Linked DNA regions of Homo sapiens: all the other regions are linked to region 1. Evidence: promoter capture Hi-C in 16 types of primary human blood cells and fetal thymus (Javierre and others, 2016). All regions are on one chromosome and are shown on one strand. Each heading gives the region's core, a stretch centred on a gene start or on the middle of the fragment in contact. The rest is flanking DNA. Distances are from core to core; before and after follow the strand shown. Region 1 holds the start of EXOSC10 (exosome component 10). Region 2 holds the start of NPPA (natriuretic peptide A). Region 3 overlaps CLCN6 (chloride voltage-gated channel 6). Region 4 holds the start of C1orf167 (chromosome 1 open reading frame 167). Region 5 holds the start of FBXO6 (F-box protein 6). Region 6 has its middle 14 kb from the start of FBXO2.

Region 1 (4,037 bases), core at 395-2,894:
GTGGGAGGACGGCTTCAGCCCAGGAGTTCGAGACCAGGTTGGTAAGATGCAGTCTAAAAAAAATAAGCCAGGCGCTGGTGGCGCACACCTGTAATCCCAGCACTTCGGGAGGCCAAAGCAGGTGGATCACTTGAGGTCAGGAGTTCAAGACCAGCCTGGCCAACATGGTGAAACCCCATCTCTACTAAAAATACAAAAAAAAAAAAAAAATTAGCCGGGCATTGTGGCACACGCCTGTAATCCCAGCTACTTGAACCTAGGAAGCGGAGGTTGCAGTGAGCTGAGATTGCACCACTGCACTCCAGCCTGGGCAGCAGAGTGAGACTCTGTCTCAAAAAAAAAAAATAAACAGGGCAGGCACGGTGGCTCCGCCTGTAATCCCAGCACTCTGGGAGGTCGAGGCGGGAGGATCACAAGGTGAGGAGTTCGAGACCAGCCTGGCCAATATGGTGAAACCCCGTTTCTACTAAAAATACGAAAAAAATTAGCCGAGCGTGGTGGTGCACGCCTGTAATCCCAGCTACTCGGGAGGCTGAGGCAAGAGAATTCGTTGAACCCGGGAGGCGGGAGGTTGCAGTGAGCCAAGATTGCGTCACTGCACTCCAGCCTGGGCAACAGAGTGAGACTCCATCTCAAAAAAAATAAAAATAAAAATAGGCTGCACGCTGATGACTCGTATCTGTAATCCCAGCACTTTGGGAGAGCAAGAGTGAAACTTTGTCCCAAAAACATGGTTTTTTTTGTTTGTTTGTGACAAGGTCTCACTCTGTTGCCCAGGCTGGAATGCAGTGGTTCGATCTCGGCTCACTGTAACCTCCACCTCCCGGGCTCAAGCCTCAGCCTCCCGAGTAGCTGGGATTACAGGCATGTGCCACCACGCCCGACTAATTTTTGTGTTTTTAGTATAGACAGAGTTTCACCATGTTGGCCAGGCTGGTCTCCAACTCCCGACCTCAGGTGATCCACCCGCCTCGGCCTCCTAAAGTGCTGGGATTACAGGTGTGAGTCACGGCGCCCAGCCTCAAAAACATAACCTTAAAAAGAAATTTTTGAGACAGGGTTTCATCCTGTCACCCCGGCTGGAGTGCAGTGGAGCCTCCACCTCCTCGGCTCAAGCAACCATCCCACCTCAGCCTCCCGAGCAGCTGGGACTACAGATGCGCACCACCACTCCCGGTAATCCCGGTTTGTTTGTTTTTTAAATTTTTAAATAAACACGAGGATAAGCGGGGATCGTGGCCCTCGCCTGGGGTCCCTGCTACTTCGCAGGCTAAGGTGGGAGGATCTCTTGAGCCCAAGAGTTCGAAACCAGATTGGGCAAACCTCGTGTCAAAAATATATGTGATAGTCAGGTCCTCCAGGCCGCACCCTAGATCACAGGGTTGTTGGGATGATACAATATGAGGTAAAAGAACGTGAAATTCACACCAGAGCGCTCGAAAGTGCCACCCTAATCGCAGGCTTCCCAACCTAATCGCAGGCTTCCCAACCTAATCGCAGGTGCCCCACCCTAAACGCAGGCTTCCCAACCTAATCGCAGGCGCCCCACCCCAATCGCAGGCTCCCCACACTATAATCAGACGCCCCGCCCGCCGCTTCGACCTGGCGCATGCGTGGTGCGCACGCGTCCCGTCTCCTCGGCCGACAAGCTCTCGCGAGACGAGCCGTGCAGGCTGAAAAAATGGCGCCACCCAGTACCCGGGAGCCCAGGGTCCTGTCGGCGACCAGCGCAACCAAATCCGACGGAGAGATGGTGCTGCCAGGCTTCCCGGACGCCGACAGCTTTGTGAAGGTGAGTTCGCGGGGCCTCGGGGGTACCAGGAGTCGCCCGCGGCCGCCGGAAGCCGACTGGGCCCTCTGGGCAGCCAATGCCCGCCCGCCGTAGTGGAGCCCGAGCGAGGGTCGCGGGGCCCCTGTCCGCGCTGGGCGCAGACTCTCCTGCACCCTCCGGGGATGGGGCCTCGGAAACGGACACTGAGGGGCGTCCCGCTTGCGAGCCTAAGTCCATGGAGGCCCAAATGTGGAAAGCCGTCTCGCATCCTGGGAAAGGCTTCCTTGCCACCCAGACGTCCCTAGCCCTTGCGACGTCGCGCTCGCCACGCCCTAGCCACCCGACCAGCTCTCCGCAGGGGCTCGGCTTCTTCGCGCTCCCCACACTTGCCTGGAGTTGTCTCCTCCCGCGGCCAGTATGGCCCTTCTCTTCCTCTGTTTCTGAAGTCCAGTCCTACATAATTTTTAACCCTGAGTTAAATGTCACCTGTTAAAGCCCCATTGCACGTTTATTAGTAACTCCTGGAAGGTATACAGGGCGTTCACTTAAGATCTTTGTATAACTTAGCTTAAATATGAGCAAACGTACAACTAGGCTTAAGGTGTGCATAGCTCTTACAAAGCAATGAAACTAAAATAATTTGTAAATTAACCCTATAAATTTACAGAAATTCCACTAACGTTGTATCTTATCTAATTTGCTGTTAGCTAATGCTATTGATTCATTAACATGGCTCTCAATAGTTCCTGGACCACTAACTGTGGTCCTGGTTGTGTGGCGGTCATGCTCATAAGCTACCATGTTCCCCTCCGTGACTTAATTTCCCACCTCCTTTCTCTGCTTTTTTCTTGGGAAATGTTTATTCACAAAACTCACAATGACGTTTTAGGCCTTCACATGATCAGCCATCATTTATGTCACTTCACGGCTTTTTTTCGTTACCTCACAACAGTTAAAATAGAGAACCACTTGACACTAACTGAACAATAAACACAAATCCAGTTTTAGATAGTAGCTGTTATAAATTTGTCGTCCAAGGATCTAGGATAAGCTTGTATTGTTTTTAGATGCTCATCCAGATGAAAACACAAAAACAAATTCCTGTAGAAAGCTCTTGGATCTGAACTTGAGTCGTAATAATAACGCTTATGTGCCAAGAACTGTCCTAAGTGCTTTTATTAGCTTATTCATTCTGTCCTCACAAAAACTCTGTGGTGCAGGCCCTTTTTATTTTTCCTGTTTCTCAGAGGAGAACACTAAAGTCCAAATAAAGCAATCACTTGTCCAAGATCTCAGTTAATACGTAGCAGAGTCAAGATTCAACCCCAGGTATTTGTGAATATTAATCAGATTATATACGTATGTATTCTGTCTCTCAACTCTCCCAAGAATATAAGCTCCAAACTTGGTTTCCTGTTCAGTATTGTATTCTCAGGGCCTAGATTAGATTGGGGTTTGGCACTAAATGAGTGCTTTTTTTGATGGATGAAGAGTAGATACCTTGTATACGATAGATCAAAAAAATGACATACCAAATGAATGGGGATCCCTGTGTAAACATGCCATCTTTTCTTGTTTTTGACAGTTTGCTCTTGGGTCCGTGGTGGCAGTCACCAAGGCATCTGGGGGCCTACCACAGTTTGGCGATGAGTATGATTTTTACCGAAGTTTTCCTGGCTTCCAAGCATTTTGCGAAACACAGGGAGACAGGTTGCTTCAGTGGTAAGTACTGTACTTTGTTTTCTTGTGTTAGTGAAAAGAAATGAAAACAAAGAAGTAGATAAATTTTTCCTGAAATTTATTTTTCCTTAAACATTTTCTGTGGTATGAAGAGCTATAAAATGTGAAAATTGAAGCAATGGATTTTGATTAGGGAAATATTACTTGGTATATTTTTAGTTTAGCCTTTAAAAAATGTATTGACTTTTGTACTGAAAAAATATATTGACTTTTGTACAAATCTTTTTTAATTAAATGGGACGTGAACACTTAGAGCCAAGATTCTTTTTTTTTTTTGAGACGGAGTCTCGCTCTATTGCCCAGGCTGGAGTGCGGTGGCATGATCTCGGCTCACTGCAAGCTCCGCCTCCCAGGTTCACGCTATTCTCCTGCCTCAGCCTCCTGAGTAGCTGGGACTACAGGTGCCCGTCAACACGCCCAGCTAATTTTTTGTATTTTTAGTAGAGACAGGGTTTCAACATGTTAGCCAGGATGGTCTCGATCTCCTGACCTCGTGATCCACCTGCCTCGGCCTCCCAAAGTGCTG
Region 2 (4,037 bases), core at 661-3,160, 750 kb before region 1:
TGGCAGCTCTCTACGTGAAATAGGCTAGGATACAGACATCAGCGTCAGACCTGGGGATCCAGTCCTGGTTCCGCCACTTAGGCACCTAGTGGCCTTGGGCAAGTGGCATAGCCTCTCGGGCTCAGTTCTGTTCCCTTGTAAGCAAGGACAATGCTATCTACCACCTGGGGATGGTGATCAAAATAAAATCATTTCCATAAAGTTCTCAGCACAGTGCTAGGCATGCTACAAGCAACCAATAAAGACAACTATGATGGCCATCTTGCAGGGACTCAGCACTGCACACTTGTTATGTGTTGACACGTTCTCAGCTCACTTGGGCTCCACAACAATCCTGCAAGGTAGGCAGGGAAGATTTCTACTTTATTCATTCATTTATTTATTTATTTTTTGAGACCGAGTCCCACTCTGTTGCCCAGGCTAGAGTGCAGTGGTGCGATCTTGGTTCACTACAACCTCCGCCTCCCAAGGTCAAGCAATTCTTTTACCTCAGCCTCCCTAGTAGCGGGGATTACAGGCACATGCCACCACACCCAGCTAATTTTTATATTTTTAGTAGAGACAGAGTTTTGCCATGTTGGTAGGGCTGGTCTCAAACTCCTGGCCTCAGGTGATCCACCCACCTTAGCCTCCCAAAGTGCTGGGATTATACGTGTGAGCCACTGCACCCGGCCGGTTTTTAACATTCTTTCTCATTTTACACACAAGGAAAGTAAGGCTGCGAAGAGGTATGCAACTGGTTTGTTTTGGGCTACAGTACTGGTCTCTCAGCCCTTCAAATTTAGAGTTTTCCCCCAGTATACGTTGCATTGAATGGTAATGGCTAACACTGAGTTCAGTGCTTAGCAAACAGGCCATTCATTAAACATAGACAGACTTGCTGCCTGTTATTTCCCTTTTGGGGGCCAGGGAAATTGTGACCTTGGTGGCTCGGTCACTTGCCACTTGCCACGTCCTCAGGGAAGGATGTAGAAGGCATTGAGGGAAACTGACTATACCTCCTTCACCCCCACCTCCCTTCCTCCATCGGTCAAGTTGCCACGGGCACAAGCCCAGGAAGGGCAGGGGGATGTTAACAAACTTCAGACACGAAGAGTCTGAGCATCTATAAACAGCAACGGAAGAAATGAAATTGGCTGCGTCCTCTAAGCCTGTCCCCGCAGCATGCTGGAGGAGGGTCGCGGGGGACATGGAAGAGGAGGAGCTTTGGAGAGAGGATGCTTGTGCTCCCCCGCCTTTTCTTGCTATTTCTATTTGGGGGTTGGATTCCTGGGAGCTTCATCACATTTGGTTCTCAGCTGACTTTATATACTAAAAAATAACTTCCTTTCGCCTGACCATGGAGAGGGACTGCCAGGGGTGAAGGCAGCCCTGTCTGAGGCCAGAGGTCTGCCCACGTGGCGGATGAGGCAGGTGTGAGGCCAGCTTGAGCATCTGGATCCATTTGTCTCGGGCTGCTGGCTGCCTGCCATTTCCTCCTCTCCACCCTTATTTGGAGGCCCTGACAGCTGAGCCACAAACAAACCAGGGGAGCTGGGCACCAGCCAAGCGTCACCCTCTGTTTCCCCGCACGGGTACCAGCGTCGAGGAGAAAGAATCCTGAGGCACGGCGGTGAGATAACCAAGGACTCTTTTTTACTCTTCTCACACCTTTGAAGTGGGAGCCTCTTGAGTCAAATCAGTAAGAATGCGGCTCTTGCAGCTGAGGGTCTGGGGGGCTGTTGGGGCTGCCCAAGGCAGAGAGGGGCTGTGACAAGCCCTGCGGGATGATAACTTTAAAAGGGCATCTCCTGCTGGCTTCTCACTTGGCAGCTTTATCACTGCAAGTGACAGAATGGGGAGGGTTCTGTCTCTCCTGCGTGCTTGGAGAGCTGGGGGGCTATAAAAAGAGGCGGCACTGGGCAGCTGGGAGACAGGGACAGACGTAGGCCAAGAGAGGGGAACCAGAGAGGAACCAGAGGGGAGAGACAGAGCAGCAAGCAGTGGATTGCTCCTTGACGACGCCAGCATGAGCTCCTTCTCCACCACCACCGTGAGCTTCCTCCTTTTACTGGCATTCCAGCTCCTAGGTCAGACCAGAGCTAATCCCATGTACAATGCCGTGTCCAACGCAGACCTGATGGATTTCAAGGTAGGGCCAGGAAAGCGGGTGCAGTCTGGGGCCAGGGGGCTTTCTGATGCTGTGCTCACTCCTCTTGATTTCCTCCAAGTCAGTGAGGTTTATCCCTTTCCCTGTATTTTCCTTTTCTAAAGAATTTGCTGGACCATTTGGAAGAAAAGATGCCTTTAGAAGATGAGGTCGTGCCCCCACAAGTGCTCAGTGAGCCGAATGAAGAAGCGGGGGCTGCTCTCAGCCCCCTCCCTGAGGTGCCTCCCTGGACCGGGGAAGTCAGCCCAGCCCAGAGAGATGGAGGTGCCCTCGGGCGGGGCCCCTGGGACTCCTCTGATCGATCTGCCCTCCTAAAAAGCAAGCTGAGGGCGCTGCTCACTGCCCCTCGGAGCCTGCGGAGATCCAGCTGCTTCGGGGGCAGGATGGACAGGATTGGAGCCCAGAGCGGACTGGGCTGTAACAGCTTCCGGGTAAGAGGAACTGGGGATGGAAATGGGATGGGATGGACACTACTGGGAGACACCTTCAGCAGGAAAGGGACCAATGCAGAAGCTCATTCCCTCTCAAGTTTCTGCCCCAACACCCAGAGTGCCCCATGGGTGTCAGGACATGCCATCTATTGTCCTTAGCTAGTCTGCTGAGAAAATGCTTAAAAAAAAAAGGGGGGGGGGCTGGGCACAGTGGCTCACGCCTGTAATCCCAGCACTTTGGGAGGCCGAGGCAGGCGGATCATGAGGTCAAGAGATCAAGACTATCCTGGCCAACATGGTGAAACCCCAGCTCTACTAAAAATACAAAAATTAGCTGGGTGTGGTGGCGGGCACCTGTACTCTCAGCTACTTGGGAGGCTGAGGCAGGAGAATCACTTGAACCCAGGAGGCAGAGGTTGCAGTGAGCAGAGATCACGCCACTGCAGTCCAGCCTAGGTGATAGAGCGAGACTGTCTCAAAAAAAAAAAAAAAAGGCCAGGCACGGTGGCTCACGCCTGTAATCCCAGCGCTTTGGGAGGCCAAGGCGGGTGGATCACGAGGTCAGGAGATGGAGACCATCCTGGCTAACACGGTGAAACCCCGTCTCTACTAAAAATACAAAAAATTAGCCAGGCGTGGTGGCAGGCGCCTGTAAGTCCTAGCTACTCCGGAGGCTGAGGCAGGAGAATGGCGTGAACCCGGGAGGCGGAGCTTGCAGTGAGCAGAGATGGCACCACTGCACTCCAGCCTGGGCGACAGAGCAAGACTCCGTCTCAAAAAAAAAAAAAAAAAAAGCAACTGCCACTAGCACTGGGAAATTAAAATATTCATAGAGCCAAGTTATCTTTGCATGGCTGATTAGCAGTTCATATTCCTCCCCAGAATTGCAAGATCCTGAAGGGCTTAAGTGAAATTTACTCTGATGAGTAACTTGCTTATCAATTCATGAAGCTCAGAGGGTCATCAGGCTGGGGTGGGGGCCGGTGGGAAGCAGGTGGTCAGTAATCAAGTTCAGAGGATGGGCACACTCATACATGAAGCTGACTTTTCCAGGACAGCCAGGTCACCAAGCCAGATATGTCTGTGTTCTCTTTGCAGTACTGAAGATAACAGCCAGGGAGGACAAGCAGGGCTGGGCCTAGGGACAGACTGCAAGAGGCTCCTGTCCCCTGGGGTCTCTGCTGCATTTGTGTCATCTTGTTGCCATGGAGTTGTGATCATCCCATCTAAGCTGCAGCTTCCTGTCAACACTTCTCACATCTTATGCTAACTGTAGATAAAGTGGTTTGATGGTGACTTCCTCGCCTCTCCCACCCCATGCATTAAATTTTAAGGTAGAACCTCACCTGTTACTGAAAGTGGTTTGAAAGTGAATAAACTTCAGCACCATGGACAGAAGACAAATGCCTGCGTTGGTGTGCTTTCTTTCTTCTTGGGAAGAGAATTCAGGCCGATAT
Region 3 (4,037 bases), core at 912-3,411, 720 kb before region 1:
GATTCTCCCACCTCAGCCTTCCAAGTAGCTGGGATTACAGGCACCCGCCACCATGCCCAGCTAATTTTTTGTACTTTTAGTAGAGATGGGGTTTTGTCATGTTAGCCAGGCTGGCCTTGAACTCCTGACCTCAGGTGATCTGCCTGCCTCGGCCTCCCAAAGTCCTGAGATTACAGGCATGAGCCACTGCACCCAGCCATTGATGTTTTTGTTTGTTTGTTTTTGAGACGGAGTCTTGCTCTGTCACCCAGGCTGGAGTGCAGTGGCGTGATCTTGGCTTACTGCAAGCTCCGCCTCCCAGGTTCATGCCATTCTCCTGCCTCAGCCTCCCCAGCATCTGGGACTACAGGCGCACACCGCCACGCCCAGCTAATTTTTTTGTATTTTTAGTAGAGACGGGGTTTCACCGTGTTAGCCAGGATGGTCTCAATCTCCTGACCTTGTGATCCGCCTGCCTCTGCCTCCCAAAATGCTGGGATTACAGGCGTGAGCCACTGTGTCCGGCCCCATTGATGTTTTTTCTTATAGTCTGTGCCTTCTGGAGTTTTAAGAAATTATTCCCCACTCTTGACAACATATAGTCTCCCGAAGTTTTGTTCTGCATATTTACATCTTCATCTGGAATTTATCTTATTTATAGTATGAAATAGGAATATAACTATTTTTCCATATGGATCACCCATGTCCCAGCATCATTTTTTTTAAGACAGGGTCTTGCTATGCTGCCCAGGCACAGTCATGGTGCATTACAGCCTCAAACTCCTGGGCTCACCTCCTAAGTAGCTGGGACTACAGAGATGTGTATCTTTTATTTATTAAATAACACAGCGTCTTTTATTAAATCATTCATCACTCCCTCACTGATTTGTAATATTAACTGTCATTCACCAAAGTTCCATGTATGTGAGGACCAGCTTCTGCTTCTCTATCATTTTCCACTGTCTAGGTATTCCTGCACCAATATGACCAATTTCAATGACTGTATCTTAAATTTTATGACTTTTTTTTCCCTAACTCCCCAAACTTGTTAATTTTATAAGACTTGATATCTGACAGGGTCAAGTCCACCTTCTTGTCATTTAGAACTATACTGACTGCTTTTGGCCCTTTACTCTTCTACACAAATTTACAAAGAATTTCTGAGTTCCACAACAAATTCTATTGGAATTTTGATTGGAACTACATTAAATTTACAGATTAGGGAGTACAGGCATCTTTGCGGCATCTGTAATCTTATCAACCACAAACATAGGTATATGTCTTTGCTTATTAAAGTCCTTCTTTTGTGTCCTTCAGTGATCATTAGAAATATTAAAGCTGAATAGCTAATAAGCGGCCCTTCTAATACTATGCTTACTGTTAGACCCATTTCTATGTAAGAAAGAATCTTGGTGACCACTGAAGTCCACGAACACCAGGAACCGTGAAAAGGATACATGTCTGTACCACTCCGAACTTGAGTTGGGTGAAGAGTCGCACAAAAAAGTCCACAAAGAGACCCACCTGTGAAGAGCAAGAGATCTGTCACACAGCCTTATTTCCAAGTGTAGCACAAGTATAGTACAGGTGTGCTCCTCTTGAAGGCATCTCCTCCCCCACTGCACATACGGAGGCTGCTCACCAGCCAGCAGTACGTGAATGCACAGCAGAAAAGCGCAGAAGGAGGAGATCCCTTCTCCAGCCCAGTCCCACTGCCCCTCCAAAGAACAAAGGCAGAGAGTACAGCTAAGTTGAGTGAAGCAACGGAAAACAAAGAGGGAAGCAGGTGCAGAAAAAGATGTGAGACCAAGAAAGACTACTGACACAGGGGTGTCTACTCTTTTGGCTTCCCTGGACCACACTGGAAGAAGAATTGTCTTTGGCCACACATAAAATACACTAATGACAGCTGATGAGCTAAGAAAAGAAAAACTCAGAAAAATCTCATAAATGTTTTTAAAAGGTATATGAATCTGTGTTGGGCCATGGGTTGGACAAGCTTGCTTTAAAACACAACATTCATTTAGGTGTATGTGCTTTTTGCATGTTCCTTATTAGCAGGTTCTATTTTGTAAGTCATTATTTTGACTTGAAATCATCTTTTTTTGAGATGGGGTCTTGCTATATTGCCTAGGCTGGCCTTGAACTCCAGGGTTTAAGAGATCCTCCTGCCTCAGCCTCCCAGGTAGCTGGGATTACAGGCACACCCCACTGTGCCAGGCTTGACTTATAACCATCTTATAGTCCATAGTTACTCTGGGTAGAGAAAACAACCAAATTCCAGTATTCCACTCTCCAAAGTGCTCAGGGCTTAAAGGAGAACTAGAAAGACTTCTAATTTTATGGATTCAGGATCAAAGCTTCTTGCCTTTAACTCTGGCCTTCCCTCAAGCCAATGCCTGGAGGCTTTTTGATACTGAAGCCATAAAGTGGCCACACATCAATGGACAAGAGTTGGGAGTGCTATGTCATAAAGGCAGGTGTGCCTTCCTAAAATACAAAGGTAGGAGGTAAAGTTGCTTCAGCTTGAGTAACACTTATCTGAAATGCTTGGGACCAGAAGTGTTTTGGATTTCAGATTTTTTTTTCGAATATCTACATTATACTGATTAAACATCCCAAATCCAAAAATTTGAAATCCAAAATCTGAATGCGCCAATGAGTATTTCCTGAGAATCGTGTCAGCATTCAAAAAGTTTTGGATTTTGGAGCATTTTGGATTTTCTGATAAGGAACACTCAACCTGTAGTACTGACAAGTGGCAGCTCCAAAGAGTTTGATATAAAAGTAGCACAAACACTAACAACTAGAGGCCTAAGGACTATGCTTATTATAGAGAAATCTGCAACCAGAAACATATATAGCAAAATAAATACCCTGAGATTTCTTTTTTTTAATTTTTTTTTTATTTTTAAGGAGACAGGGTCTCCCTACGTTGCCCAGGCTGGTCTCAAACTCCTGGGCTCAAGCAGTCCTCCTGTCTCGGCCTCTCAAAATGCTGGGATTACAGGTGTGAGCCACCGTCCCTGGCCCAACACCCTGAGATTTAAATAAAACAATAAATCAACCCAAGTTTCCCCAAAATGGTATCCATCAGAATATCACTGAAGAGGGCTTCTGAATGCCATCAGTCTTACCTAGTAAGATGTTCCTTTACTTGTGGATTTACTATAGTAAAAATTTGATGCATGCCATGAAAATAAAAATTGTGGTTGGCCCCTGTGGCTATATTATACCGAACACATGTGTACATTTTCTAGGCATATCATGTCAAATTAAGTAGGAGGCTTGTGGCCAGTTCAAGATAAAGGTGGTCAACAGGCTGTTACTGAGGACAGATACCCTATCCCAACACTGTACTGACCGGAATCAGATTTGACATGGATCTTTTTGACTGATGCTGATTTTTCCAGCTTCTCTTCCTCATATTTAACAATGTGAAGTCGGCAGTTTTGGTTCCAGACTTTTTGCTATCCTCATCTTTGGCCATGTTTCCAATCTTGCCTTGTCTTTGATTCACCTGTGAAGTTGCTGCCTCCACCAACTCTGTTCATACGGGCATATCCCTTCACTCACAGCTGCTGGCTCTATCTTCTAGATAACATTAACGACGTACGGGGAGGAGCCCAGGATAGCACCATAAACTCCCTGCATGAGATCAATAGCTATGGTGTGCCACCCTGTTCACTGGCACGCTGTGCTAAATGAAGGGCACGATGTTCACAGTTCCGTACCCACGACTTCGCTTTTTCCCTAAAGAGCGATCTCATGCCTGCCTAGAGTCCTAACCACTCGGGAGGCTGAGGTAGGAGGATCACCCAAGCCCAGAAGGTCGAGGCTGCAGTGAACTGTGATTACGCCACTGTGCTCCAGCCAGGGTGACAAAGCGAGACCCTGTCTCTATTTAAATTAAAAGAAAAAAAAAAGTAACTTTAACTTCCATTATTTACTCTACCCAATGCATTATCTACCCATTAGGGAGACATCTAGTTTACTAGGTAGATTAGAGATTATGATCCATAATCATATCATAAAAGATAAAGTCCTGCCCAAACCTT
Region 4 (4,037 bases), core at 787-3,286, 660 kb before region 1:
CCCAGCTGCCTGGGGCCTGCCCCTCACTGTTCTGGTCTCTCAGTGGCTCCTCTCCCTGCCCTACTTATCACCCCCCTTTCCATATTAAGTGTCCAGGTCAAATGCTGCCCCATCCTGCCCCCCAGACCTCTCGGCTGATCTGCATACAGGTCTGAACATGCAGGTCCAGCGACCTCCTCCACGCCTACCCGGATGTCTAACAGGCATCTCAGCATTAATATGTCCAAAACTGAACTCCAGCCGTCCTCGCAACCAGCTCTCTCCCATCTTGGTGCCCCCCTTTTCCACGGATGGCAGCTCCGGCCTTCTGGTGGCTCAAACAAAAATCCTGGAGCCACCCCGATTCCCCTTCTCCCTCACACCAGTGGCTGCTCTGACAGGCTCTGCCTCCCACACGCATCCAGGATCTGACCCCTGGAGCACTGGGCGGAGTGGCCCTCACCTGCCACCTCCCAACTGGTCACCCTTATTCTGCCTCGTCCTCACGCCCGACAGCCTCCTCTTCATGCGGCGGCAGGGTGATCCTGTAAACACTGAAATCAAATCATGCCCTGCCTCAACTCTAATGCCACAGAAGCTCTCCAGCCCCCTCAATGCCCCGTGAGCCTTCAAGGCTGTAGGCCAGAGGTTAGCAAATTACTGCCTGGGCCAGTGGTCTATTATGTGAATAAAGTTATATTGAAACAAAGCCCATTTGTTTACAGACTGTCTGCTTTCCAGCTGCAATAGCAGAGCTCAATAGCTGCAAGATACCTTAGGCTGCAAAACCTTTTTTTTTTTTTTTTTGAGCCGGAGTCTCACTTTGCCACCCAGGCTGGTACAATGGCGTGATCCCGGCTCACTGCAACCTCCGCCTGCCTCCCTGGGCTCAAGGGATCCTCCCACCTCAGCCTCTAACAAGCTGGAACCACAGGCACATGCCACCACGCCAGACTAATTTTTCTATTTTTTGGTAGAGACAGGGTTTCACCATGATGGCCAGGATGGTCTCGAACTCCTGACCTCAGGTGATTGGCCCGCCTCGGCCTCCCAAAGTGCTGGGATTACAGGCGTGAGCCACCACACCCAGCCCCGCAAAGTCTTTAAAATCTGGCTGCCAGTTATGGTCCTCCCCAATTCCTCTTCCCCTTGCCCACTGTCCTCCACACACACCAGCCCCCTGGCTGCTCCTCCAAATGGCACACACGACCTCACCTCAGCGCCTCTGTGCTGCTGTCCCCTCTGCCTTCAAGTCTTGCCTCCCACATCACAGTGAGCCCTCCCTGCCCACTGTCTCTCCAACTGCAGCAACCTGGCCTCTCCTCACTCTCTTTGCCCTGCACTTGCGGCCACCTAACATAGTGAAGAAATTAGTGTATTTCTCCCTCCAGTGGCCTAGGAGCCACACGAGGGCAGGCTGGTTTTTTTTGTTTGTTTGTTTCCCTGCTGGATTTGCAGCCCATAGAACAATGCCTGACCCCCAGCAGGGGCTTGTAAATGCACATTGAATAAATGACAACCGTGCTAGGCACCTTGCAGCCTTCAGCAGGCGTCCTGCCATTTAATCTGCACTGCAGCCCTGGGACTTAGGTTCCCTGTTTTAGAAATGAGGACAGGAGCTTAGAAGGGCCTGTCCCACCCAAGGCCTCAGAGGGAGCACCCCAGGGCTGGCTCCACAGCGCAGACTCCTAACCAAGAACACCCCACCATCCCCTCTTGCCCAAGTTGACTTGAGGCCGCTCAATCCACAGGAGACCTTCCTGCACCCCTGCCCCTCACGCCGGAGCTCTTCGGTCCATTTCTCCGCTCCTCGTCCGTCTCCCTCAGACTCCCCCCTCCCACTCCACCCCCACCCCTGTCCACTTAAGGGGGCTCACAGCCTCCCTCCTCTTGCCACCAAAAGAGTCTGAGGTCAGTTTCCTGCCCTCATGGATCTGCCCTCACGTGCGTGGGTCCTCCTCGGGTCCTCCTTCACCCAGTCGGATTTGAATCTAGACGGGGGCTGGGACCGCTAACGATCCCCGCAGGTCGGCAGGTCGCGGGCGGGAGGGGACGTCGGAGAGCAGAGCGTGCTGCCCCGCGCTTGGCCCCGCCCAGCCCTGAGCCGTGGGCGTGGCCACCGACGTCCTGGTACAGGTTTTGCCGGGTCCTCCGCAGGCAAGGCACGTGGTCCCAGGGCAACTTTTGCACGTGCAAGATGAGCGACATTCTCTTGGCCATCAGGTCCCCGGGAACCTCCTCCACCCTCTGCCCCGAATCCTGTGGCAGCATCACTGGGGTCTGGGCTTCCTCCACCAGGCGTGCCTCCTCTTGGCTCCTTCCCGCACCTAGAGCTGCCTCCTGGAGCCCCCGCACATCTGGGATACCCCCAGCCATGTCCCCACCACCTATGCCTCTTGGGGCTGCAGGACATGCCCCCGGCTCCCACTGGTAGGAACCCCAGGGGCAGGACATCCGGGTCATGGACACTCACATCCTCACCCGTTCCCAATAGGTGCGATGTCCCATCCAGGGATGTCTCAGATGCAGCTGGCAAACCATGGCCCTCATGGCTGAGGACACACCCGTGATGGGACCCCAGGATCTGGGGGGCAGCCACCACCCTGATCACCACCTGGAATGCCTCATCCTGGACCTCCTCCAATGAGCATGTCCCCCAAGGGGTCTCGGTCTGGATCTCCCATGGGTCACTCACGTCCTATGCCTCCATGGTATGTGTGGACCTCCTCCACCGATGCTGCCTCATGGATACACTGGCCCTCCCCAACACCCACCCTATGGCTTCCGGGGGGGACTCTCCCTCCACCCAGACCCACTCCGGGGCCTCCAGTTCCCCCTCAAGGCCCACTTTGGGGCCCTCTCCCTCAGTAAATTCACATTCTTCTTCCTCCTGTTATATCTTCCCAATATCTTTTTGATTCCTTGGACCAGAGATGCTGCAGCTCCTTGCAACTAAGGCACAAATCCCTTTCAGCCTTCCCATCTTCCTTTTTAATGCCATTTTTTTCCCCATAGAAGGTATTTCTTTTTCATGTTGGTCCTAAGTATTTTGCAAATGCAAAGGAAAATAAAACTATAACAAATTTCTTGTTAAAAGAAAGAAAGAAAGAAAGGCTAGGCACAGTGGCTCACACCTGTAATCCCAGCACTTTGGGAGGCTGAGGTGGACGGATCACAAGATCAGGAGTTCAAGACCAGCCTGGCCAACATGGTGAAACCCTGTCTCTACTAAAAATACAAAAATTAGCCGGGCATGGTGGCGGGCACCTGTAATCCCAGCTACTCAGGAGGCTGAGGCAGGAGAATCACTTGAACCTGGGAGGCAAGGGTTGCAGAGAGCCAAGATCCTGCCATTGCACTCCAGCCTGAGCAACAGACCAAGACTCTGTCTCAAAAAAAAAAAAAAAAAAAAAAGAAAAAAAGAAAAGAAAAGAAAAGGCTGGATGTGGTGGCTCATGCCTGTAATCCCAGCACTTTGGGAGGCCGAGGCAGCCGGATCACTTGAGGTCAGGAGTTCAAGACCAGCCTGGCCAACATGGCAAAATCCCATCTCTATTAAAAATACAAAAAGTAGCTGGTGTGATGGTGTGCACCTGTAATCCCAGCTATTCAGGAGGCTGAGGCAGGAGAATTGCTTGGACCTGGGAGGTGGAGGTTGCAGTGAGTGGTGATCATGCCACTACCCTCCAGCCTGGGTGACAGAGTGAGATTCTGTTTCAAAAAAGAAAAAAAGAAAGAAAAGAAAAGAAAAAAAAGAAAGAAAAACTCTCCCAGCCTTCAGGCACCTCAGAAACTGGCTGGACTCCACCTTAATACCCAAGCTTTGCCGTGCCGTCAGCCTAGCTCGATCACACTTCCTTCAAGGCTGCAAAGGTCCGTCCACTTTCCACCTCCCAAACCTTTGCCCACATTGTTCCCCACTGTGCCCAGCCATCCCACTCCTTCCTCTGTCCAGACTGTATGTTTTCTCCTTTCTAAGCACCTGCTGGGAGAGGAAAGAGCACTCAGTCAGAAAACCTGTGATGAACTCCTTCTGCTGGCCAGGCGCAGTGGCTCAC
Region 5 (4,037 bases), core at 475-2,974, 560 kb before region 1:
TCAATTAAAAATGCTTGTAGTCTAGGCAACATAGTGAGACTCTGTCTCTAGAAAAAAAGAAATTAGGTCGGGTGCACAGACTCAGGCCTGTATTCCCAGCACTTCGGTAGGCCGAGGCGGGCGGATCACAAGATCAGGAGTTCGAGACCAGCCTGGCCAATATGGCGAAACCCCGTCTCTACTAAAAATACAAAAATTAGCTGGGCGTGGTGGCGGACGCCTGTAGTCCCAGCTACTCGGGAGGGTGAGGCAGGAGAATCACCTGAACCCGGGAAGCGGAGGTTGCAGTGAGCCGAGATCGTGCCACTGCACTCCAGCCTGGGCAACAGAGTGAGAATCTGTCTCAAAAAAAAAAAAAAAAAAAAAAAAGGCCGGGCGCGGTGGCTCACGCCTGTAATCCCAGCACTTTGGGAGGCCGAGGTGGGCGGATCACGAGGTTAGGAGATCGAGACCGTCCTGGCTAACACAGTGAAACTCCATCTCTACTAAAAATACAAAAAATTAGCCGGGCTTGGTTGCAGGTGCCTGTAGTCCCAGCTACTCGAGAAGCAGGTGCCTGTAGTCCCAGCTACTCGGGAGGCTGAGGCAGGAGGACGGCCTGAACCCGGGAGGCGGAGCTTGCAGTGAGCTGAGATCGCGCCACTGCACTCCAGCCTGGGCGACAGAGCGACACTCCGTCTCAAAAAAAAAAAAAAAAAAAAAAAAAAAGAAATTAGCTAGGCCTGGTGGCCCGTGCCTGTAGTCCCAGCTATGCAGGAGGCTGAGGCAGGAGGAACGCTTGAGCCCAGGAAGTCGAGGCTGCAGTGAGCCGTGATCATGCCACTGCACTCCAGCCTGGGTGACAGAGCAAGACTCTGCCATAAATAAATAAATAAATAAATGCTGGCAGCTTCTAAAGGCACTGTCTAGACTCTAGACGAAATAAAAGTCACTGGGCTCCAAGCTAGAGGCATCTAGGCACCAATAGCTTCCCACCGTGGTGACCGAAGTCTGGTCTCTGGCCCAGTCCGCATTTTCTTGCGCCCCTTCCCCCCCCCGGCCCTGGGCATTTTGTGGTGGGGAAGTCCATGCCAGCCCTAGGAAGCCCTCTCACACCGATCGGGGTCCCCAACTGCCCGGCCCGGCGTCTCGTGCTCGCCTTCTCCGCACCCACCCTCCCAGCAAGCTCTAGTGGCATTGTTACTTCACCGGTTTCTCGGAAACAGAAACTGTGGCTGGGGCAAGGCAAGCGCCGGATCTCGCAGGCGTGTGGGGGCCTGGAGGTCCCTTGACAGTTCTCCGAACCCGGCGCCGGCCTCGGGATGTGGCCGGGGTGGAGGCGGCCGCAGAGCCTCCGCCTGGGTGGCCCCGGGGCCAGGCCCCCAGTCGAAGTCCGGGCCCAGCCGCCCGCGCCCCCCACCCCTGGCCGCCCGGACCAGCGCCCGCAGGCTCCGTGAACGCCCAGGCGCCGGAGACCCCGGCTCCCCACTCGCCCGCCGCCCGTCCCCCCGGGGACGCGACCTGGGCGCAGCGGCGGAGCTCCAGGTCGGCCCGAGCCTACGGCCTCGGCTTCGTTGTCGCTGGGCCCCGCCGCCGCGTCACGCGCTGCGCTCGGTCCCCACCCCCGCCCCGGACCCCGCTGCCGTCCCTCTCGGCCCGGCCCCTAACCCTCGCCGCGGGAAGACGAACCTGGGATCCCCAGGGCCCGGGCCCTCGCTGCGGCCTGCGTGTCCTGAAGCTGTCTCCCCCTCCAGGCGGCGGGCGGCTCAGCACCCACACCTGCACCCGCCTCCTACGCAGGGCCGAAGCTCCCGAACGCGCGGCCGCTCCCCGGACCTCCGCACTAGTTCCTTCCTTATGCGGCCCAGGGCTCCACCCTTGACCCGCGGTCCCCTCCCTAGAGGCAGGACCTGACACCCAGTGGGCTCCTTCTTTCCCTAGGGCGTGACCTCCGCAGGCTTCATAGACTCAAAGGTAAAAAACCTGAGGTGCTAGGAGGTGGCTAACGCCTGTGATCCCAGCACTTTGGGAGGCCGAGGTGGGGAGGATCGCTTGAGGTCAGGAGTTCGAGACCAGCCTGGCCAACATGGCAAAAACCCTGTCTCTACTAAATATACAAAAATTAGCCGGGCGTGGTGGCACAGGTCTATAATCCCAGCTCCTCCGGAGGCTGAGGTGGGAGAATCGCTTGAACCTGGGAGGCTGCAGTGAGTGGAGACTGTACCACTGCACTGCAGCCTGGGCGACAGAGCCAGACCTTGTCTCAAAAAATAAAAAACCTCTGAGGTTTTTTATCAGGATTAAGTTCATGAATTTCTTCCATCAGTCAACAAATATTTAGCAAGCACCTTGTTCAGGCAACCACCAAGGGTTGTGCAGGCTGTGTACTGCACAAGGGGACTGGCCCAGGACACATTAATTGCAGTCAGGGCTACATGTTCTCCGTGGAAGGCCGTCCTTTTGCAGTTTGCCATGGGCTGGTGGGTGGTGATCCTGCCCTGGCCAAAGCCCTTATCTAGCTCACCCTTGACTGAGATAGCTAAATGTGAGGAGTACTTATTGAGCACTGGATTATAGTCCATGTTCACACTGCTATAAAGAAATACCCGAGACTGGGTGATTTATAAAAGGAAAGAGGTTTAATTGACTTATAGTTCCATATGGCTGGGGAAGCCTCAAGAAACAATCGCTGGGCGCGGTGGCTCACGCCTGTAATCTCAGCACTTTGGGAGGTCGAGGTGGGTGGATCACGAGGTCAGGAGATTGAGACCACCCTGGCCAACATGGTGAAACTCCATCTCTACTAAAAATACAAACAAAATTAGCCGGGCATGGTGGTGGGCGCCTGTAGTCTCAGCTACTCCAGAGGCTGAGGCAGGTGAATGGCGCGAACCTGGGAGGCAGAGCTTGCAGTGAGCTGAGATTGCGCCACTGCACTCCAGCCTGGGCGACAGAGCGAGACTCCATCTCAAAAAAAAAAAAAAAAAAAAGAAAAGAAAAGAAAAAAGGAACTTACAATCATGGTGGTGGAAGGTGAAGGGGAAGCAACGACCTTCTTCACATGGCGGCAGGAGGGAGCCGGGGAAACCGTCACTTGTAAAACCATCAGATCTCGTGAGAACTCACTCACTATCATGAGAACAGCATGGGGGAAAACCGCTCCCATAATCCAATCACTTCCCACCAGGTCTCTCCCTAAACACCCAGGATTACCATTCAAGATGAGATGTGGGTGGGGACACAAAGCTTAACCATATCACGCACCAACTGTGTGCCAGGCACCATTCTAAATGCTTCGGCTTCATCCAATGTCCGTAAAGCTGTTGGCAAAGAGTAACACCAGGAGGCAGAGCCTGGGTGGCACTGCTGATCTGGCACAAGGTGGACTCAAGAGCTGCCCAGAGATGTCCACACACCCCAACCCCAGCCTGTGGCTGGGCCTCCAGAGGAAGCCAGCAGTACTGGACGGCTGCCAGGTGAGATACCTGCAGCTCACTGAGGGGTCTGCCCATGAACCTGTTTCTGTGATGGCCTGGTTCCTGAAATGCCAACCCCTCTGTACCTTAGACAGAAGCCATGCCATTGTACCATCTGCAGGTCCAGGCAGGACCACCTAAAGTCTGCCTTTCCTTCCAGAAACCACAGGGCACAGGTTAGACTGGGCACACCTTTTATTTGGCTGCATGCAGTAGGGCGAAGTCAGGAGAACACTGCTATCTTTCCAGCAGGACAAGAGGCAAGTTCCAAGGGTGGTTGGCTGGGAGACAGAGGTCTTGGGAATGGCAGTTCTAGGGGTGGGGTGGGGGCTTGGAATGCTCTCCAAGCCAGAGGGGGCCGGGCCTGGATTTGGGAGGTGGACAGGGGATTCTTCAAACCCCCTACCATACTCATCCAGGGCTCATGTGTCCAGCTGTCAGAGCAGGTCCCAATCCTGCTCCCCATCTACCCTGGGACATCCTGTACAGGATTCCCTCAGTCCTCTGGGAACCTAACCCCACCTGGTACCCATCTAGCTTCTGGGGCTCCACTGACAGTGAGGACAGTCCACACCCGACCTG
Region 6 (4,037 bases), core at 582-3,081, 540 kb before region 1:
AAGTCCATCTCCACCTCGGCAGAGCCCTGGGCCTTGCTTGATGGTGCCAGGCCTGCAGTGAACACAGAACACCCAGACAGATCCAATCCTGAGTTCCTGGTGCATAATGACTTTGCTATTTCCCACCACCGTAAATTAAACCTAATCTTGTGTTGACTCTGCTGAACAAGGAGAATAATGAAGAAGATTAAGATGAGATGGTATTCATTCTCCTCCAACAAAAGCCAATTAATTGTCAGTAGGATTACTGCCTGGAGCCAGGAGCTGCTTGCTAGGAGCTCTGCAGACAGGATGGAACAGGGCTGAGGGCCATTCGCTAGGGTTGCCACTGGGGTCTGCTGGTCATGCAGCAGGAAATATTGCAGGTAGATGTTAGGGAGAACTGCCAGAATGAAGGAGGGGGCTGGCACCAAGGAGGAGGGTGCAAAGAGCTTGGAATCACTCACAGAGGTGATGTTTCTAAGGCGTGGAGGGGAACGCTGTGGAAGTTCCCAGCCACCTGACCATGTCCATCCGAGGCCCCCTGGGACCTTCCCCTGACCATGTCCATCCGAGGCCCCCTGGGACCTTCCCCTGCCTTTCTGCGGTCACCTTTGATGAATGAAGCTGCATTCAGGGGTCTCTGGCTTCCTCCCCACTCTGCTTTTTTTCCTCCCTTCCTCTCCTAGGAATCAGGGAGGCCATTTGTCCAGTGTTAACAGCTTGGGTTTAGAGACAGAAACATGGCCAGGCGCGGTGGCTCACGCCTGTAATCCCAGCACTTTGGGAGGCTGAGGCGGGTGGATTGCTTGAGGTCAGGAGTTCCAGACCAGCCTGGGCAACATGGTGAAACCCCGTCTCTACCAAAAATACAAAACAATTAGCTGAGCCTGGTGGCACACGCCTGTAGTCCCAGCTACTTGGGAGGCTGAGGCATGAGAATCGCTTGAACCTGGGAGATGGAGGTTGCAGTGAGCAGAGATCGCACCACTGCACTCCAGCCTGGGTGGCAGTGAGATTTTCTCTAAAATAAAAATAAAAATAATTAGAGACAGAAACACTTGGGCTTCACCTGGCTTTGCCCCTTGTCCTCAACCACACAAATGGAACCTACGATCCTCACCTGCCAACCTGGTTTGATACTCCCAGGCACTAATGTGCCTCCAGTTCCTGCACCCACTAGATTCTTGGAACAAGACAGTGAAGCTGAATGGAGTGGCCTGACTGCTGTGGGCCGTTGCCAGAAGGTGAGGGAACCAACATTTGTTGGTCTACTGCTGCATTATCTCATCGACTGCCTACAGCAGCCTCCTCGGGAGGCTTTATTTTGTCATCACAAAATTTATTGAAGAGGAAACCGAGGCTCAGAGAGGTGGGGCCCTTGGTCGAGGTCACCAAGCTGTAGGCTGCAGAGTTGGCTGGGACGGGGCTTCTGTCGCCATGGCCCCCAAAGCTTGAGCCCTTTCCTCATCTGCACATTGCTTCGTGCACATGGAAGGCATTCAGTGTGTGCTGGCCGGATGAATGAAACGCTCATCAAATGCTATTTCTGGTCCAGTAAGTTCCGTTTCAGACTCTCCCACATCCTGATAACTCCCAGAAGTAAATGGATTGTGTGTGATTTGTGAAATTCTTCTTGGTAATTCTTGGCAACTCACCTACCTCACTACTACTGTGAAGAAAACTCTACCCTCCCATCCAGATCTAAGTTTGCTTCATTTACTCGGATTGATGAGGTTTTTTTTTTTAATTTTTTTTTATTTTTTTTTATTTTCTGAGCATGGCAAAAGTAGCCTCAAAGTCCAGTTTTACAATCTATGCTATCTCAGCACACGCTGAGCACTCACCATGTGATAGGTGTGTTCAAAACATCACCTGTGTATGGTTTTATTTAATCCTCCAAGCACATCTGTGTGCTATTATTCCCATTTCAGAGGCTGAGATGAAACTGAGGCCCAGAGACGTGCATTCTCGCCCCAGGTCACACAGCAAGGGCTTTGCATGGCTGGAATCCCCTCCAGAGCTGCCTCTCCTCGCCCCCTGTCACCACCTGCAGGCTTTCCTGGGTGAAGTGATTCTTGCGGAGGGATTCTAGTCCTCTGTGCAGACAGGAATTGTGGTGGAGGCCGTGGGCTTCCGGGTTCAGTTGGAATTGGTGGAGTTTTCTGTGTCCCACAAATCACACACTTAGACTCAGCCTCAGGAATTGATCTTTGGTTCATATGTGGAAGGATTTACCACTTAAGCTTTTTTTTTTTTTTTTTTTTTTTGAGACGAAATCTCACTCTGTTTCCCTGGCTGGAGTGCAGTGGCATGATCTTGGCTCACTGTAACCTCCACCTCCCAGATTCAGGTGATTCACCTGCCTCAGCCTCCAAGTAGCTGGGATTACAGGTGTGCACCACCACACCTGGCTGTTTTTTGTATTTTTAGTAGAGATGGGGTTTCACCATGTTGGTCAGGCTGGTCTCGAACTCCCGGCCTCAAGTGATCCGCCCGCCTCGACCTCCCAAAGTGTCGGGATTACAGGCGTGAGCCACTGTGCCCGGTCACTTAAGCATTTACTCAGCACCTTCTGCGTGTCAGCACCTTGTTATGCTTTGAGGATACAACAGTGAACCAATGAGGTCCTTGTCCTCTAGGAGCTCACAGACTAGAGGGAGAGAAGGATCTGGGTTCCCAGTTCTGACCCTCCCCAGGTGTGTGACCAGTTAGTGCCTCAGTTTCCACATCTGTAAAATGGGGATGATTTTGTTACTTACCTGATAGGATTGTTATGAGAATCAAATGAATTAATATAGGTAAGACACTTAGATCAAGGCCTGCACATAAAAGGTGCTACATACAAGTTTGTTAAATAAAATGGACAAGTCTGGCAACTATAGTCTAATAATAGTAAAAGGGTGGTGAGGGGAAGCCTACTGAATTTTAGAGGAGGGACATCTAACATAGACCTTGATCAGGAAGGTTTCCTGGAGGAGGCGGTCCATGGACTCTTGACCCAAGTGATGGTAGGAGGGTGAATTACTTCCCTAGCCAGCTTGTAGCTTCCTGGGCTGTCACTGGGAGCTGCAGTACTAACTGGCCTTTTCCTGGGGCTTATTGTCATAATTTTTCAATGTGCGAAGCACTGTAGTAGCATCTGGATTCGAATAGAAATCTCTGTGCTCAGGGACCTATGATTGAGAGGGTGGGAGGAAAACATCCTGAATATGTTCTAGGACAGAAAAACAGGCCCCCAGACGCTGTGGGCAGTGTGTGGGGAGGTCTCCAGTGGGGCAGGGTGTAGAGAGGCCCTCAAAGCTGCAGAAAGACAAAGATGTCCTCGAAAAAAAGAAAACTAAAAAAAAAAAAAAAAAAAAAAAAAGGAAGGGGGAAGCCGGCAGGGAAAATGATTTTCTCGGCTGGCATTTCTTGGGGAATTAAATCTTGTTTTTCGTCACCACCAAGTGGAATAATCCAATATATTAAAGCAGAAGTCCCCACTCCTATTTATTGCTGCGACTTTGACCTAACAGTCTCGGGTCTGCATTTGGAATCAGACTGTCCCGGGGAGGGAGAGCAGGAGGGAGGAGGCATCAACCCCTTGGATCAATTACTTTCCTCTCCGACACAGGAAAAATGAATTATTCCCCGAAAAGCAGGCACCTCATCCGATGAATTCTGCACTGCAGAGCTGGTGGAGTTCTACTAAATTGAATTTGGTCTTTGAGAGACATTTAAAACCAAGTGGAGTGTGTGTGCTGGTGGGGTGTGTCTGACAGCCACTGGGGCTTCTGTCAGTTGGGGTTGAGGAAGCCCCCCACTTACAGTTCTCTGGGTTCGGGGGCAAGAGGTAGCCATGCTTTCTGCCCCAGGGACCCCCAGCACTCTGCAGGGGCGAGATGTTTTTGTTCCCAGCCTGAGGCTCAGAGAAGTGAGGTTGCTTGTCTGAGGCCACACAGTGAGCTGGTAACCATAGCAACCTGTTACCTTTATGTCCCTGTCCTCTGGGTCCTGCTGAAAATGTCCCCCGCCCTCCCAGGGAACCCCAGGTTGAGCAAGTTGGAGTTGGGAGC

The links. The method cuts DNA at HindIII sites, captures the fragments that hold promoters and counts their contacts. A CHiCAGO score of 5 or more calls a contact.
Region 2: the fragment with the promoter of NPPA here is called in contact with the fragment with the promoter of EXOSC10 in region 1 in 2 of 17 cell types (naive B cells and total B cells); the score reaches 8.4 in naive B cells.
Region 3: a contact is called between a fragment that was not itself captured here and the fragment with the promoter of EXOSC10 in region 1, in 1 of 17 cell types (erythroblasts). The highest score is 5.7, in erythroblasts.
Region 4: the fragment with the promoter of C1orf167 here is called in contact with the fragment with the promoter of EXOSC10 in region 1 in 4 of 17 cell types (M0 macrophages, erythroblasts, naive B cells and 1 more); the score reaches 7.6 in M0 macrophages.
Region 5: the fragment with the promoter of FBXO6 here is called in contact with the fragment with the promoter of EXOSC10 in region 1 in 11 of 17 cell types (naive B cells, activated CD4 T cells, M1 macrophages and 8 more); the score reaches 9.1 in naive B cells.
Region 6: a fragment that was not itself captured here is called in contact with the fragment with the promoter of EXOSC10 in region 1 in 7 of 17 cell types (endothelial precursors, naive B cells, fetal thymus and 4 more); the score reaches 8.6 in endothelial precursors.

Annotation. Positions count from the first base shown.
Region 1 is chr1:11,097,476-11,101,512 of GRCh38, reverse strand. It overlaps EXOSC10 (exosome component 10), which reads left to right and starts at 1,644. Exons shown (of 25, transcript NM_001001998.3): 1 at 1,644-1,792; 2 at 3,357-3,493. The coding sequence starts at 1,682. It overlaps EXOSC10-AS1 (EXOSC10 antisense RNA 1), which reads right to left and starts at 1,838. Exons shown (of 2, transcript NR_135062.1): 1 at 1,699-1,838. RefSeq lists enhancers at 1,355-1,915, 2,205-2,264, 1,916-2,478 and a silencer at 2,102-2,303. The HindIII fragment of the contact is 4,706 bases long and covers 1-2,824 here.
Region 2 is chr1:11,845,656-11,849,692 of GRCh38, reverse strand. It overlaps NPPA (natriuretic peptide A), which reads left to right and starts at 1,910. Exons shown (of 3, transcript NM_006172.4): 1 at 1,910-2,131; 2 at 2,254-2,580; 3 at 3,679-3,984. The coding sequence starts at 2,009. The coding sequence ends at 3,684. It also overlaps NPPA-AS1. RefSeq lists an enhancer at 1,084-2,874. The HindIII fragment of the contact is 12,440 bases long and covers 1-4,037 here.
Region 3 is chr1:11,816,954-11,820,990 of GRCh38, reverse strand. It overlaps CLCN6 (chloride voltage-gated channel 6), which reads right to left. Exons shown (of 23, transcript NM_001286.5): 5 at 1,437-1,503. Among named protein-coding and RNA genes, the nearest start is that of CLCN6, 13 kb to the right of the region's middle. The HindIII fragment of the contact is 361 bases long and covers 1,981-2,341 here.
Region 4 is chr1:11,760,192-11,764,228 of GRCh38, reverse strand. It overlaps C1orf167 (chromosome 1 open reading frame 167), which reads right to left and starts at 2,036. Exons shown (of 21, transcript NM_001010881.2): 1 at 1,924-2,036. It also overlaps the pseudogene LOC101060126. The HindIII fragment of the contact is 5,648 bases long and covers 1-3,802 here.
Region 5 is chr1:11,661,887-11,665,923 of GRCh38, reverse strand. It overlaps FBXO6 (F-box protein 6), which reads right to left and starts at 1,724. Exons shown (of 6, transcript NM_018438.6): 1 at 1,669-1,724. It overlaps FBXO44 (F-box protein 44), which reads right to left. Exons shown (of 6, transcript NM_033182.7): 6 at 2,597-4,037. RefSeq lists an enhancer at 1,149-1,198 and silencers at 1,319-1,388, 1,439-1,658. The HindIII fragment of the contact is 5,022 bases long and covers 1-3,227 here.
Region 6 is chr1:11,638,222-11,642,258 of GRCh38, reverse strand. No RefSeq gene overlaps it. Among named protein-coding and RNA genes, the nearest start is that of FBXO2, 14 kb to the left of the region's middle. The HindIII fragment of the contact is 793 bases long and covers 1,435-2,227 here.